2 separate regions of the Homo sapiens genome follow, and region 1 is linked to region 2. The links are contacts of gene promoters, found by promoter capture Hi-C in blood cells and fetal thymus (Javierre and others, 2016). All regions are on one chromosome and are shown on one strand. The core of a region is centred on a gene start or on the middle of the fragment in contact, and the rest is flanking DNA. Distances in the headings are between cores, read along the strand shown. Region 1 overlaps CLSTN1 (calsyntenin 1). Region 2 holds the start of CTNNBIP1-AS1 (CTNNBIP1 antisense RNA 1).

Region 1 (7,112 bases), core at 4,130-6,629, 68 kb after region 2:
CCCACACCTCTGAGACAGAGTGAGACCCTGACTCGGAAAAAAAAAAAAAAAGAAATTCACATCAATGTAATGCACAAATTATTAAAGTGGCTCTTTTAAAGTGTACAAGTGATTTTCATGTAGACATCATTGGTTTTCCTTAACGGGGTGGATGTCAGTCAGTGGTTCTCAAGGGAGGAGGGAGGAGGATTGCCCCCAGGGGATCTTGGGGAATGTCTGGAGACACTTCTGGTTGGCACATCTTGGTGGGGAGGCCGCGGACATCCAGTGGTTTTGAGGCCGGGATGCTGCTGAACGTCCCACAATGCACGGGACAGCCCCACAGCTAAACATTGTCTGGCCCAGAGTGTCCAGCTGTTGAGAAACCCTGATCTAAATAATGTCTAAGCTATGTATTTGGTGTTTCAATCAGCCCTTTAAAATTTAGTTTGTTTGGGATTCTGATGAAGAAATCCTTAAACCTGTGCATACAGAGATTCTTTGGCAGTGTTCAGTCTTTGGAAAAAAAAAAATAAGAGTAATTAAAAAATCTGTTTTACAGCTGGGTGCAGTGGGTCACGCCTGTAATCCCAGCACTTTGGGAGACTGAGGCAGGCGGATCACTTGAGGCCAGGAGTTTGAGACCAGACTGGCCAACATGGTGAAACCCTGTCTCCGCTAAAAATACAAAAATTAGCCAGGCACGGTGGATCACCTGAGGTCAAGAGTTCAAGACCACCCTGGCCAACATGGTGAAAACCCCTCTCCTCTAAAAATAACAAAAATTAGCTGGGAGTGGTGGCACACATTGTAGTTTTATTTCACTTCAGCCTGGGTGACAGAGCAAGACTCTCAAAAAAAAAAAAAAAAAGAATTTATGACTAGGGACAATACTTAGAGACCCAGAGATAATGCCTTTTTATATTTTGATTTTAAAACTGTGAATATTTTACCTGTTCCAAATGCTTTTTTGAGGAAAAAAAGAATCAGCTGGAGATTTTAAACTTAGAGTTTAAGATACTTTTCTACCCATGTCATCTTTAACAAGGGCCTACTAGCTCGCCTTTGGAAATTAACTAGCAGGATTTTAAAATCAAAGCCTGAGAACTTGGAGCATGCAAGGGCACCTGTCACCACCTGCTGGCAGTGTTCCTTAATTGCAGGTTCTTATGATAGACCAAGGTTTAAAAGTTGAATCTGCAAATGAAACCTGTAACATCATCTAGGATTTATAGGTGAGACGCCAACAGTCTCTTGCAATATTTAGCTGTTGTTTTTTAAGGGCAGACATGACCAACCTACGTGTCATGATAAGAGGCACACATCACACTCTTGTTTGAAACAGTGGGTTTCTTTTTTCTTTAGAGATAGTCTTGTTCTCCCTGAGGCTGGACTGCAGTGGTGAGATCTTGGCTCACGGCAGCCTGTAACTCTTGGGCTGAAACATTCCTCCTGTCTCAGCCTCCCGAGTAGCTGGGAGTACAGGCATGTGCCACCATGCCAGCTAACTTTTTTTTTTTATTCAAGAGGGAATCTCGCTTTGTCACCCAGGCCGGAGTGCAAGTGACACAATCTCTGCTCACTGCAACGTCTGCCCCCCAGGTTCAAGAGATTCCCCTGCCTCAACCTTCCGAGTAGCTGGGGTTACAGGTGCATGCCACCACGCTTGGTTAATTTTTTTTTTTTTTTTTTTTTGAGATAGAGTTTCGCTCCTGTCGCCCAGGCTGGAGTGCAGTGGCGCAATCTTGGCTCATTGCAACCTCCGTCACCCTGGTTCAGGCAATTCTCCTGCCCCAGCCTCCCAAGTATCTGGGATTACAGGCATCTGCCACCACGCCTAGCTAATTTTTGTATTATTATTATTATTATTTTTTGAGATGGAGTTTCACTCTTGTTGCCCAGGCTGGAGTGCAATAGTGTGGTCTCAGCTCCCTGCAACCTCTGCCTCCCAGGTTCAAGCAATTCTCCTGTCTCAGCCTCCCAAGTAGCTGGGATTACAGGCACCCGCCACCACGCCTGGTTAATTTTTGTATTTTTAGTAGAGACAGGGTTTCACCATGTTTGCCAGGCTGGTCTCGAACTCCTGACCTCAGGCCATCTGCTCACCTTGGCCTCCCAAAGTGCTGGTATTACAGGCGTGAGCCACTGTGCCCGGCCAATTTTTGTATTTTTTTAGTGGAGACGGGGTTTCACCATGTTGGCCAGGCTGGTCTCGAACTCCTGACCTCAGGTGATCCACCTGCCTCGGCCTCCCAAAGTGCTGGAATTACAGGCGCGAGACACTGTGCCTGGCCTAATTTTTGTGTTTTTAGTAGAAACAGGGTTTCACCACATTGGCCAAGCTGGTCTCGAACTCCTGACCTCAGGTGATCCACCCGCCTTGGCCTCCCGAAGTGTTGGGATTACAGGCGTGAGCCACTGTGTCCAGCCTAATTTTTTAAAACATTTTTTTGTAGAGACGGGATCACACCTTGTCACCCAGGCTGGTGTCGAACTTCTAGGCTCAAGCAATCCTCCTACCTGGGCCTCCCAAAGTGTTGGGATTATGGGTGTGAGCCACTGCGCCTGGCTGGAAACCGTGGATTTCTAGTTACAAAGTCTTCTTTACTTACAATCAGGTTTATCTTCTGATAAACCCATCTTTGTAAAGTCTAAAAATCCTAAGTTGAGCCACTGTAAGTGGGGAACCATCCATATGAGTGAATAAACCGGAAAGGAACTGTTCGTGTACTGGGTTGACTGATATCAGGGCCACCCTGGGACCTGTGGTTGGCGTCTGGGCTCTGCAACCAACCTGCTGAAATCCCCGTTACTTGTGAGACTTAGGCATGGGTCCAGCCTCTCTCTCTCTTTTTCTTTTTGAGATGGAGTCTCGCTCTGTCACCCAGGCTGGAGTGCGATGGCGCGATCTCAGCTTACTGCAGCCTCCGCCTCCCAGGTTCCAGCTATTCTCCTACCTCAGCCTCCTGGGTAGCTGGGATTATAGGCGTGTGCCACCACGCCCGGCTAATTTTTGTATTTTCAATAGAGGCGGGGTTTTACCATGTTGGCCAGGTTGGTCTTGAACTCCTGACCTCAGGTGATCTGCTTGCCTTGGCCTCCCAAAGTGCTAGGATTACAGGTGTGAGCCACCACGCCCGGCCCGGGTCTAGCCTCTCTTTAGCCCACAGAGTTGGGTTGTGCTGGGGCAGCATAGCTTATATTCATGTTAATCCTAAAGTTGATTATTGTATTTTTTTCATCTTGACTTAAAAATCAAATAATTTCTAATGACTGAAATCTACCATAACCCTAAAAAATGAGTCATATCCTGAAATGATAGGTGTGTGCCTAGCTACAGCCTGCACTTGTAGAAGGTTTGATTGCCAGCTTTGCTTTTGCATAGTTTTAAATTAATACATTCAAAGTTTAGTTTTTTTTTGAAACACATTACTTACCTAATAACTTATTAAATAACCATTCAAGATTTATTAGTCAAGGACTCAAATTACTTTTATGTAAGAAAAGTAAACAGGAGTTTGGCATGTTTGCTATGTTTCATTTTACACATTTTTTTAGGCCTCCATTTATAGGGTATAAAACTTTAAGAAAACATTCTCATTAGCTGTAAATGATTCGAATTGCAAATAATACTAACCTAAGCATTGTCATTACTTTTAAAATCTAAGTTTCTAGAAGTTTAAATTTTTACTCAATACAAAAATGACCTGGTTCACATTATTAGCTGCCCAACAAACTGTTTAAAAAACTAAGTATTCTTTGTTAAAGATCAGATTGCAAGAAATGTTTTCCATGCTCTTATTTTAAAAAACAAGATTCCGACATACATAATGAATCTAAATCAGAATTCACCAATGGTGGCTGAAATAGTGTCAGCTTTCAGCCCAATACAATATAAATCCACAGTTATAATGCATAAACAATTCAAAGTTAAAATTTATAGTGGAAATGTCAACAAGTCACAACTACTACACATTACTACTGATGGGTTCCACTACAGGCACAGCAGATGTGCACATCTGATAGACTGCTTAGAAAATTAAAGCTATCAAAGCTATAAATAAAGAATACATAAATATGAACATGGCGATGTGGAAGCATTAGAGCCGTTAAAAAAAGTGAATAAGCTGGGCGCGGTGACTCACTCCTGTAGTCCCAGCACTTTGGGAGGCCGAGTTGGGCGGATCACCTGAGGCCGGGAGTTCAAGACCAGCCTGACCAACATGGAGAAACCCCATCTCTACTAAAAATACAAAATTATCCAGGTGTGGTAGTGCACTCCTGTAATCCCAGCTACTTGGGAGGCTGAGGCAGGAGAATCGCTTGAACCCGGGAGGCAGAGATTGCAGTGAGCCGAGATCACGCCACTACACTCCAGCCTGGGTGACAAGAGCGAAACTCCGCCTCAAAAAAAAAAAAAAGAATAAGATGTGATGTAAACACATCTGATAGTTCTGTCTGTAAGCCACTTTCCACTGATTTATAATGCTATGGTTTTATAATTCTTTTAAAAAGGAAAATTTTTCTACACTGCTGCATTCAGTATCATTGTACATTCTCGACTACAGTGCAATCTTTAAATCCTCTTGCAGAGCTTGACATATCTCATCAGAATTTCCCCAGAAAATCAGCTTGTCATATTTTCAGCAGCCTTTAGTGCTTCAGTAGCCTTGCGAAGCTCCTTAATAACTGATGATAAAGCTTCTGGGTTAATTTCTTGTTCACAAAGCCGTACACAAATAGGAGTTTCCATATCTAAGCCAGCATTCTAAATTCTTGAAATCTCAAGCAGAATGTGTGATTAGTACAGGTTGGATACTCTTAATCCCAAAACCTGAAATGTGAAATGCTCCAAAATCCGAAACTTTTTAAGCACCGACATGACACCACAGTGGAAAATTCCACACCTCATGTGATGGATCAAAGTCAAGATGCAGGTGCACAACACACAGTTTATTCAGCATCCTGTCCATGGTCTCCCGCACCGCATTTGGATTCGCTGCCACGGCTACTCGCCATGGCTGAGGCCAAGGGAGGCAGGAGAAGCAGTTTAGTTTGTTTTTTAAAACCTCCTAGAATGTGATGAAATGAGTCAGGTATAGACTTCCGACATAGGTGACACGTTCCTAGACTTGCAGCCAGTAGTCTCTTGTCTTTGCCATTTTTTTGTGATGATGACAGAAACATCGGTCACTTGTTTCTGTAAATGTTTTATGATGCAAATTGAATGTGATGAAATATTAAAAATATCACTCATTAAATATTTAAAAGTTCAGTGTTTGGAACTGGCCAGATCTCATTCTACTGCCAGCTTAAGAGCGATTTAGAAAATTTGAATTATAAAATTGGAATACTGGGAACATAGTTACACAGTTATTTTTCCACCGAACCCTTAACCATTTCAGCTGCAGGCCTTTCCATTTGGGCAGCAGAAACACACATTTTACGTTACTACTCATCATGGGTTTTCTGTAATGTGCTCTGCCTGGTATTTTTACATCCCCGTTGGGCTAAATAAAGACATAAATTCATTTAGTTTAAGTCTCAGGAGTTTTATGGACTCAAATATTAGAAGAATATTTAGTTTTAGTATTTATAGTGCTTGTAATTTTATTAATAAAACCTTAAAGTATGAAGCCAAATTGGAATCGAATATTAATTTGATTAGTGGCAAATTGAACTAGCAATTTTTGCTTTAAAATGAAAGATTGGAGGCCGGATGCCGTGGCTCATGCCTGTAATCCTGGCACTTTGGGAGGCCAATGCAGGCAGATCACCTGAGGTCTGAAGTTCGAGACCAGCCTGGCCAACATGGTGAAACCCCATCTCTACTTAAAATACAAAAAAATTAGCCGAGTGTGGTGATGCACGTCTGTAATTCCAGCTACTCAGGAGGCTGAGGCAGGAGAATCACTTGAACCTGAGAGGCAAAGGTTGCAGTGAGCCCAGATTGCACCATTCATTGCACTTCAGCCTGGACCACAGAGTGAGACTCCATCTCAAAAAAAAAAAGAAAGTGAAAGATTGGTAACAAACAATGGAGTTTTTGGAGTCCTTTCTTTAAAATGGCCTATCTTACATCTGTAACTCTAAGCTTCTTCCAGCCTACATCATAGCATGGTTTATTTTCATAGATACCTGAGCTGGATGTTGTAGCTCACACTTGTAATCCCAGCACTTTGGGAGGCCATGGTGGGAGAATTGCTTGAGCTCAGGAGTTTGACACCAGCGTGGGCAACATAGCAAGACTTCATCTCAACTAAAAAAACTTTTTTTTTTGTTTTTTGAGACAGAGTTTCACTCTTGTCGCCCAGGCTGGAGTCAAACTCCATGGTTTCTCCATGTTGGAGTGGTGCGATCTTGGCTCACTGCAACCTCCACCTCCCGGGTTCAAGCGATTCTCCTGCCTCAGCCTCCTGAGTAGCTGGGATTACGCCTGGCTAATTTTTGTATTTTTGGTAGAGACGGAGTTTCACTATGTTGGCCAGGCTGGTCTTGAGCTCCTCACCTTAGGTAATTGGCCTGCCTTGACCTCCCAAGGTGCTGGGATTACAGGCATGAGCCACTGCACCCGTCCTAAAAATTTTTTTAAAAAGATAATCTGGAGAGGATGTTGAGTTTCAGTGGTTAGATAAAGTGTTCAACCTGATTGCAAAGTCAAGTTATTCTCTCAGAGAGCCGTTTCAGACCTGATGCTGGTGCAGTCTGTGCGTAAAGCTCCCACAGACAGCCTCACACATACCTCCTGCCGGCAGACCCCCTGCTGCTCCAGGGAGGCTCGCAGGAGAAAGGTGCCGTACCATAGCCAGCCTTCTTCTTCTTCTTCTTCTTTTTTTTTTTTTTTGAGACGAAGTCTCTCGCTTCTCTCCCAGGCTGGAGTGCAATGGCACGGTCTTGGCACACTGCAACCTCTGCCTCCTGGGTTCAAGCGATTCTCCTGCCTCAGCCTCCTGAGTAGCTGGTATTACAGTTGCCTGCCACCACGCCCGGCTAATTTTTGTAATTTTTTTTTTTTAGTACAGACGGGGTTTTACCATGTTGGCCAGGCTGGTCTCGAACTCCTGACCTCAGGTGATCCACCCGCCTTGGCCTCCCAAAGTGCTAAGATTACAGGCGTGAGCCACCGCATCCGG
Region 2 (6,694 bases), core at 3,981-6,480:
GCCATATGCTGGTCTTCAAAGGAAAGACTGTAGGACTCAACCTCTGAGGTCCCTCCTGGCTCTAAAACTGCAGCTCTGAGGGATCGAGTCATGATCATAATCTAACAGCTCACCCTCCCTATTCGGTAACTGGCCCAAATTTCATAGAGAAGAGGAAAAGGGGAACCAGTGTCCTCGGCCAGAGGCCTGTCAGGTTCATGGTGAGACCTCATTGAATGACAAATACCTGGCCAACCAGTGACAAGGGTAGGTCAGAGAATGCTCTGGAAGAACTGAGAGCCTGCCTTCTCTTTCATCCCAAAGGAAAGCAGATCCTTGTGGTAAAGCCTGGATAATATCCTTAAGGAACAGAAGAGAGCACAGACAGGCCGCAGCTCCTCAGGCCTTTTCCTCTCTGCAGGGCTCCAGCAGCACAGTGGGAGGCTCTATAAATGCCACCAGGGAAGGGGGTGGCAGCTGGCAGTGTGGGAAGGGTAGGACTCTTGCAAATCCTTTGCTTCAAGTGTCTTGTTAAATAGCCATCAGAGTCCCTGTGTGACCTGGAGAAGATTACTTCCTTCCCACCCTCAGAGCGCAGGACAGGCACACACACTGGGCAGGCTGTGGAGTCGGGAGTCCTGGTCCCCAGGTCTGGGCTCCTCTGAGAAGCCAATGGCCCATTCCCTCTGTAGATGCACCATTCCCTCCTGGGGCATCCAGGGCTATTTTTGTGCCTGCAGCTCACTACAGAGGCCCAAGGTCCCTGAGCGAAAGGCCACAGGGCAGGCAGGGAGAGGAGTGAGCGGGCTGCCACCATCACTGCCACTAAGGCATCTTCTGCTGACAACTCCCCTTTCACAGACTCTTGCCAGCCCCCTTCTGATTAGCAAGCTGGGCAAGCAGCACTCAGGAAAAGTCGGCATCTGTTAGGTAACCAACTCAGCTGCCGTGCAGGGGATGATGTAATCTTGGATTCTGTGGTTGCTAGGAAAATTCTGCCTGCAGTGATATTGCGTGGTCCTAGGGCTCAGGCGAAAACAGAATGTTCCTGAGAAGACGGGAAGGATTCATAGGGCTTCCCAAGCGAGGGTGCCCCATCCTAGGAAGCTGGACAACTCGTGTCCCTTTCTAGATGCTTATTTCCCTTCTGAGCAATGGAGGTTGTGCTGGTAAAGCCAGAACCCCATGAAGGCGAGCTGGCAGTGGGAGGTGACAAGGCTCATTCCCTTAGCAGCACCTTGGTTCTCTAGTGCCAAGTGGAAGGTGTGTCTTGTGCATTGCATCCTTGTAGTTGGGCCCTCCATCTCTGGCCCTCCCGACAGCTGGGTGCGTCCTCCCTCTCTTGGTAGAGCAGTTGGAAGGAGGTCAGCACATGCCGGCTGTGGGGGAGACCCGGCTCACTGAGTGGAGGCCGGCTCACTCTGCTGACTCCATTTCACATGCCAGGAGCCTCACTTCACACTCCCCACACTGGCCCACCCTCGGGTGGCCTTTCCTGTCTCTCCTATTCCGATCCACCCCCTCCCAGAGAGAATACCTGCAGTAGCACAGACAACATGTCAGAAAGACCATGGGCAGCCAGACTGGTACTTTTCGGGGCAAAGTGAAGATCTGGCCTTTTACAAAGGGGGTGAGAGCAGCAGGACAGGGTCAGGGAGTCAAGGTGGGGCCCTACAGGTCACCTCCTGGCCCACAGCCCCTCCCTGGCCATGTCAGCCCCTAACTCCCCAGGCAGTTGTGGGTGTGGGTGGCAGGTCAGCATTTCGAGCTTTGCCCTCCTGCCACTGCCTGTCCTGGCCACTCATCAGAGCCTGTCCTCTGGAAAACAAGACAAAGGACGTGATTTCACAAGTGCCTGGGCCAGAATCTCAAATTCAGGATTAAGAAAAAGAAGGATTGGCTGGGCACGGTGGCTCCTGCCTATAATCCCAGCACTTTGGGAGGCCGAGGTGGGTGGATCATGAGGTCAGGAGTTTGAGACCAGCCTGACCAACATGGTGAAACCTCATCTCTACTAAAAATACAAAAAAATTAGCCGGGCGTGGTGATGCACACCTGTAATCCCAGCTACTCAGGAGGCTGAGGCAGGAGGATCGCTTGAACCCGGGAGGCAGAGGATGCAGTGAGCCGAGATTGTGCCACTATACTCCAGCCTGGGTGATAGAGCAAGACTCCATATCACACACAAAAAAAAGAAAGAAAAAGGAAAAAGAAAAAGAAAAAGAAGGATTGTGGGCATATCTGTCTCAGTCAGAGCCAGGCGGACAGCAGGCTGGACGTGGGCCCGGCCATACTTCTTGGAAGAGGTGTTGGGTTTGGGTGAAGGAGAAGCTGCTGCAAAGAGGAATGGCTATTTAAAACCACAGTGAGCCAGACCCTCCGAAGGCATCAAGACGCGAGTCTTGAGAAGAAAGAGGGAGGTTCCCAAGGGCCACCCCGCCTCTGGCTTTGGTAACTCTGGAGCAAGGGCTGTGAGCAGCGCTGAGCCCTGCTCCAGGTCACCTGGGGCCTCGTCATGGCTCACCTGTCAGCTGTGTAGCCTTGAGCAAGCCTCTGAGCCTCACCCTGGCAGCCCTGCCTTGCAGCCCTACAGCAGGGTTGCAAGCCTTGTCCCCAGCCAGGAGGCAGGGAAGACCAGAGGGGAGGAAGACTTCCTCGGAAGTACTTTGTCCTCAGAGAGTGCCGCGATCCTGGTGGGCGGGGGCTCCAGCTTGGCCGCAGCCTCCTTGCTTGTCCTGTTCGCAAGCCAATGCTGCAAGCCCCATCAGCGATCCTTGTCGCCTTATCTGCAGGTGCAGAGGACGTGGTGATGGCGTTTTCCAGGTCGGAGACGGAAGACCGGAGGCAGTAGCTGCAAAGCCCTTGGAACACCCTGGATGCTGTTGAGGGCCAAGAGATCTGTGTGGCTCCTGGGCCGGCTGAGTGGCAGCAGCCCCCCTTGCCCCACCTCCCCCTTCCCCTACCCAACCCTGCCCTGCCCCACCCCACCTCACAGCTACTCAGTGGGGCTGGCATCAAGGGAGACACCAGTGGTGCGTTTATAATTGGCTTAAAGGGATGGACTTGTGATTGGCTGCAGGAAGAAACTTTTTTATTTTTTAAATCTTGACCAACAGAAACCTTTTATTTTTATTTCTGACTCTTATTTTTTAAAAAATTTGCGCCTCGGTATCTGGCTTCCCTGGAAGCTCTCCGAGCTCTGGTGCTTTAGTTAGGTCATTTTTTTAGAAATGTGAAGAGGTCTGATTGGCTGCTTAAACTGGAAAGGATCTGTGATTGGCTGGTTAATGGGAAACGGTTTTTTTCTTTGGCTGCAGGTGTTCTGCTGATATCAACAGCTTCCCTATTTTGAATGCAGAAAACAGGGTCTGGGACATTAGTCGTTATATTTGACTTGAAAAGAAAGAAACCAAGTGCGCTTTGCAATATTTATTACACAAAGAACTTGCTGCTGCCTTCACATTTGGGGTTTGTGTTTGATTGGCTTTCGATGCGTGTGTTTGGTTTCCCATTGGTTCACCTGTGACTCCTGTTGCCATGGATTCACCCCCCTCTGCTGCCGGCTCTGGGCCTGAGGGTCCACCTGGAGAGTACATTTGCTTTAATGAGTGCACCTGCCTCCACCAGCAAGGGGACCCCGAGAACCCTGAGCAGGGTCCACAGCTGGAAAGTTGGGCCCCTGAGGAGCTTTGTGTCGTCTTGAACGAGCAGCCCAGGGCCTAGAGGTAACCGTTAGGCGGGATTTATGTGCACTGCCTGCATGAGCTGGCAACCAGCCAGCGTCCCTTGGTGAGAAAGGGATTGCTGAGGCACCGTCCAGGCCCCACCGGCCAGGCCGCGCCCAGCAGAGGCGTACTACCCAGCTCTGTCCTCTTGGCCATCCTTCTGTGTACCACTTCCTGAGGCCTCATTTTGGGGGTCATCTTGGAAAGGGGAGGAGCTTCTCCCAGTGTGAGACCCCAAAGACTCTGGAGGTCATCTGGCGGAGGTCTCTGGGAGCCCAGAACCCACATAAAAGCCCCAGCTTGGCTCACAAGGCCCAGGAGACCTCCAGCTAAACACCAACCCCTGACCTACCCCAGCCAGGCTCCTACCTGTCTGCTGCCAGCACAGTAGGTCCCGGCCAGCTCTGGAGTTCTCTCATCGGAGGCCCATGCCCTCCACTCCACTGCCTTTGGAAGGGTCTCTCTCCAGGTCAGCCTGGAAGGGACAGTATCGTTTGTTTATGAAATGCCACTGGGACAGCTGGCTGGGCCTTCACCAAGCAAGTCCCTTCAGACTGGCCCTTAAGCCAAACTCAGGCCCAGAATTGCAGTTCAGAATGGCAGTCCTGGAGGCAGGGGGTGAGGGGCAGGTCTAGTGTTCCTGCACCAAACCTAAGTCCTTCCACCTGCCACCCCCTTCCCTGGGAGGGAGGTGGTCCTCCTATCTCCCTGGCTCACTGGCAGGTGTGGGATCTGGGGAGAGCGGCTGGAGAAAGATGCAGTCCTCAGGAAGGGGGCCGCCACCCTCCCCTATGCTGGTAGATGCTGAGGCCCCTAGGTGCCCAGGGCCAGTGGGACCCTCTCAGAACCAAATCTTTCCCCTTTCTCGGGGCTTGGGGCTCGGGCCGTAGGGGCTCCTGAGTGTCATGAAGTGCACAGGAGCCAAATGACCGAGCCCTGGAGAGCCCCATGGTGGGTAGGTGGTTCGTGCTGTGCTCTGGCACCATCAGCCTGTTCCAGAAGGAGGATTCGAGCATCAGGCTAAGACCCTGTGTCCTCCACCATGCACTCACCCCTAGCCCTGGTTAGCTGACAGTCAGCTGTGGGGAACACAGCTACAACCCTACCCTGGCAGGGACCTGAGAGCATCTCAGGAGGGGCAGCGCATGTGTGCATGTGCTGTGTGAGTGAGCACACCCGTGTGCACACTCATACACATGTGCACACACACGCACTCTCCCCGCTCAGGGGCCTGGAGGTCTGGCTGAGCCCCTGGGGAAAGGTGAGTTCTTTCATCTCCCTCCTCCAGGTCGGAGTGCCTGGAGTCAGGTGTCGAGGCCACATTGCTGGCTGCCCCCTCTTTGTAGCTCCTATAAAGGGCCCACACCTGGTGGATACCTGGTTGAGTGTGTGGTCTCTGCCCCAGCCTGTCCTTGTCACGATCACAGGCCTTGCTTTTGTAACAATGATGACCCCGGCCTGTCTCATCTTCTGAAGAGGAAAAGTCAAAGTGTTGCTGTGGCTCCATATTTCAACTAAAAATATATCTGTTGGAGAAAGAAATTAACAATAAAGAATTTTCATAGGTTCGTGTGTGAGCTGAGCTGGTTTCTCCCTCGGAATCAGGCGCTCTGACTGATTTCCCCACATCACGTGGGCTCTGCTGCTGCGGGGGCCCCTCCTTCCCAGGGAGGCGCAGCCAGGAAGGACAACACCAAGTTTGATAAGTGTCTGTGACCTGAGTTGAGCTCAGGGTTTGGAAGAATTTCTAGATCTACCCAGCCCAGCTCAAGGGTCGTTAAGAAGGTTGAACCTTCTTTTTGACCTGGAGATTCTAAACATCATTCCAGATTCAACTGAGATCAGTAAGCTTCAGAGGCAACCTCGTCTTCCACACCTATGAAAAGACACTAAGCACTCCGTAAGGATGTGGGGACCCCGCCATCCTAGGCACCCCAACATCCTGATGTGATGGCACCAGTTTTAAAATGCTTGTTACAGACACCCAAACAGAATATCTGTCCCTTCCACCATCCCAGAAGTGGAAGATATATTGGTTTTTAGCTGTATGTACAAGTTTGGAAGCTGAAATCATTTCTGCTTCAATAATTTTTGCTTCAGAAGCATTTTCTAGAAATTTTCATTTCCACCCTTCATAATCCCATTTTTGGGTCTTTTTTTTTTTTTTTCTGTTTACATAGTCTCACTGCTTCTATTTCCTTTTCAAAGAATTTCACTGGGTCCTAGAGGCTATGGAGTTTACAGAATATGAGTACAATGGCACAACCAACATCATTAAGTCTTTGTGTTGGGGGAGATACTGGGTCTTGTAGCAGCCCACGCAGTAGCTAGATGCACAAGCCCCTCTGAAACATTTCTGAAAAGACCTTGTCCAGGCTTTGCTTGAATACTCTCTCGAGTTGGGGAGCTCACTACCTCACAAGTTAGTCCAGACCATGTTCATGTAACCTATGCTTATCCTTACATTAAGTTGATCTGCCTCTTTCTGTAACTTCTTGTCCAGAAAGGAGTTTGCAGTCATTGAGAGAAAGACAGAGATTGCTGTGTTAACCAGAAGTTACATAGAGACACACATCCAAGGGTCCGTGGTAGGTAGATTATGTGCAGATTCCACCCCTTGCCCAGCGCTCTGAGTGACACTGTCAGCCTTGTAGTTAATCAGCTCTTCTAAGCTGAGCCACTGAGTAGTTCAAGGGACTGACCGGCTGGCCCTGGTCCCACCTGCCCAGCCCCCAGCAGAGAGCTTGGAAACCGGAGCCAAGCGGGGTCGTCCTCCTGGCGCTGTCTAACCTGTCTAAGCTGCCTAAACTGTCATGGGAAGTAGGCCACGTAAATGAGTCGGGGACACTTCAGCAGGCAAAGGAAAAACACTGGGGACAGCCTTGGGTCTTTCGGGGTCCGTCAGCCCACACAGCAGGCAACCTCCTGGGTCACCTTCCCAGGTACGGGATGGGGTAATGACCCCAACAGGCAGCGCTGGGACTGCTGCA

Evidence for each region. Contacts are between HindIII fragments. The CHiCAGO score rates a contact against its expected background, and 5 or more counts as called.
Region 1: a contact is called between a fragment that was not itself captured here and the fragment with the promoter of CTNNBIP1-AS1 in region 2, in 3 of 17 cell types (M2 macrophages, total CD8 T cells and total B cells). The highest score is 5.7, in M2 macrophages.

What each region holds. Positions count from the first base shown.
Region 1 is chr1:9,778,735-9,785,846 of GRCh38, reverse strand. The region is part of intron 1 of CLSTN1 (calsyntenin 1); the gene reads left to right. It also overlaps the pseudogene MZT1P1. Among named protein-coding and RNA genes, the nearest start is that of CLSTN1, 42 kb to the left of the region's middle. The HindIII fragment of the contact is 1,393 bases long and covers 4,683-6,075 here.
Region 2 is chr1:9,846,854-9,853,547 of GRCh38, reverse strand. CTNNBIP1-AS1 (CTNNBIP1 antisense RNA 1) reads right to left here and starts at 5,230. Exons shown (of 3, transcript NR_199045.1): 1 at 5,082-5,230; 2 at 4,074-4,179; 3 at 3,394-3,562. It overlaps CTNNBIP1 (catenin beta interacting protein 1), which reads left to right. Exons shown (of 6, transcript NM_020248.3): 6 at 2,772-5,272. The coding sequence ends at 2,830. LOC105376717 (a long non-coding RNA gene) reads right to left here and starts at 2,883. Exons shown (of 2, transcript XR_946952.3): 1 at 2,504-2,883. RefSeq lists enhancers at 1,490-2,290, 3,326-3,375, 3,456-3,595, 4,730-5,231. The HindIII fragment of the contact is 10,320 bases long and covers 1-5,555 here.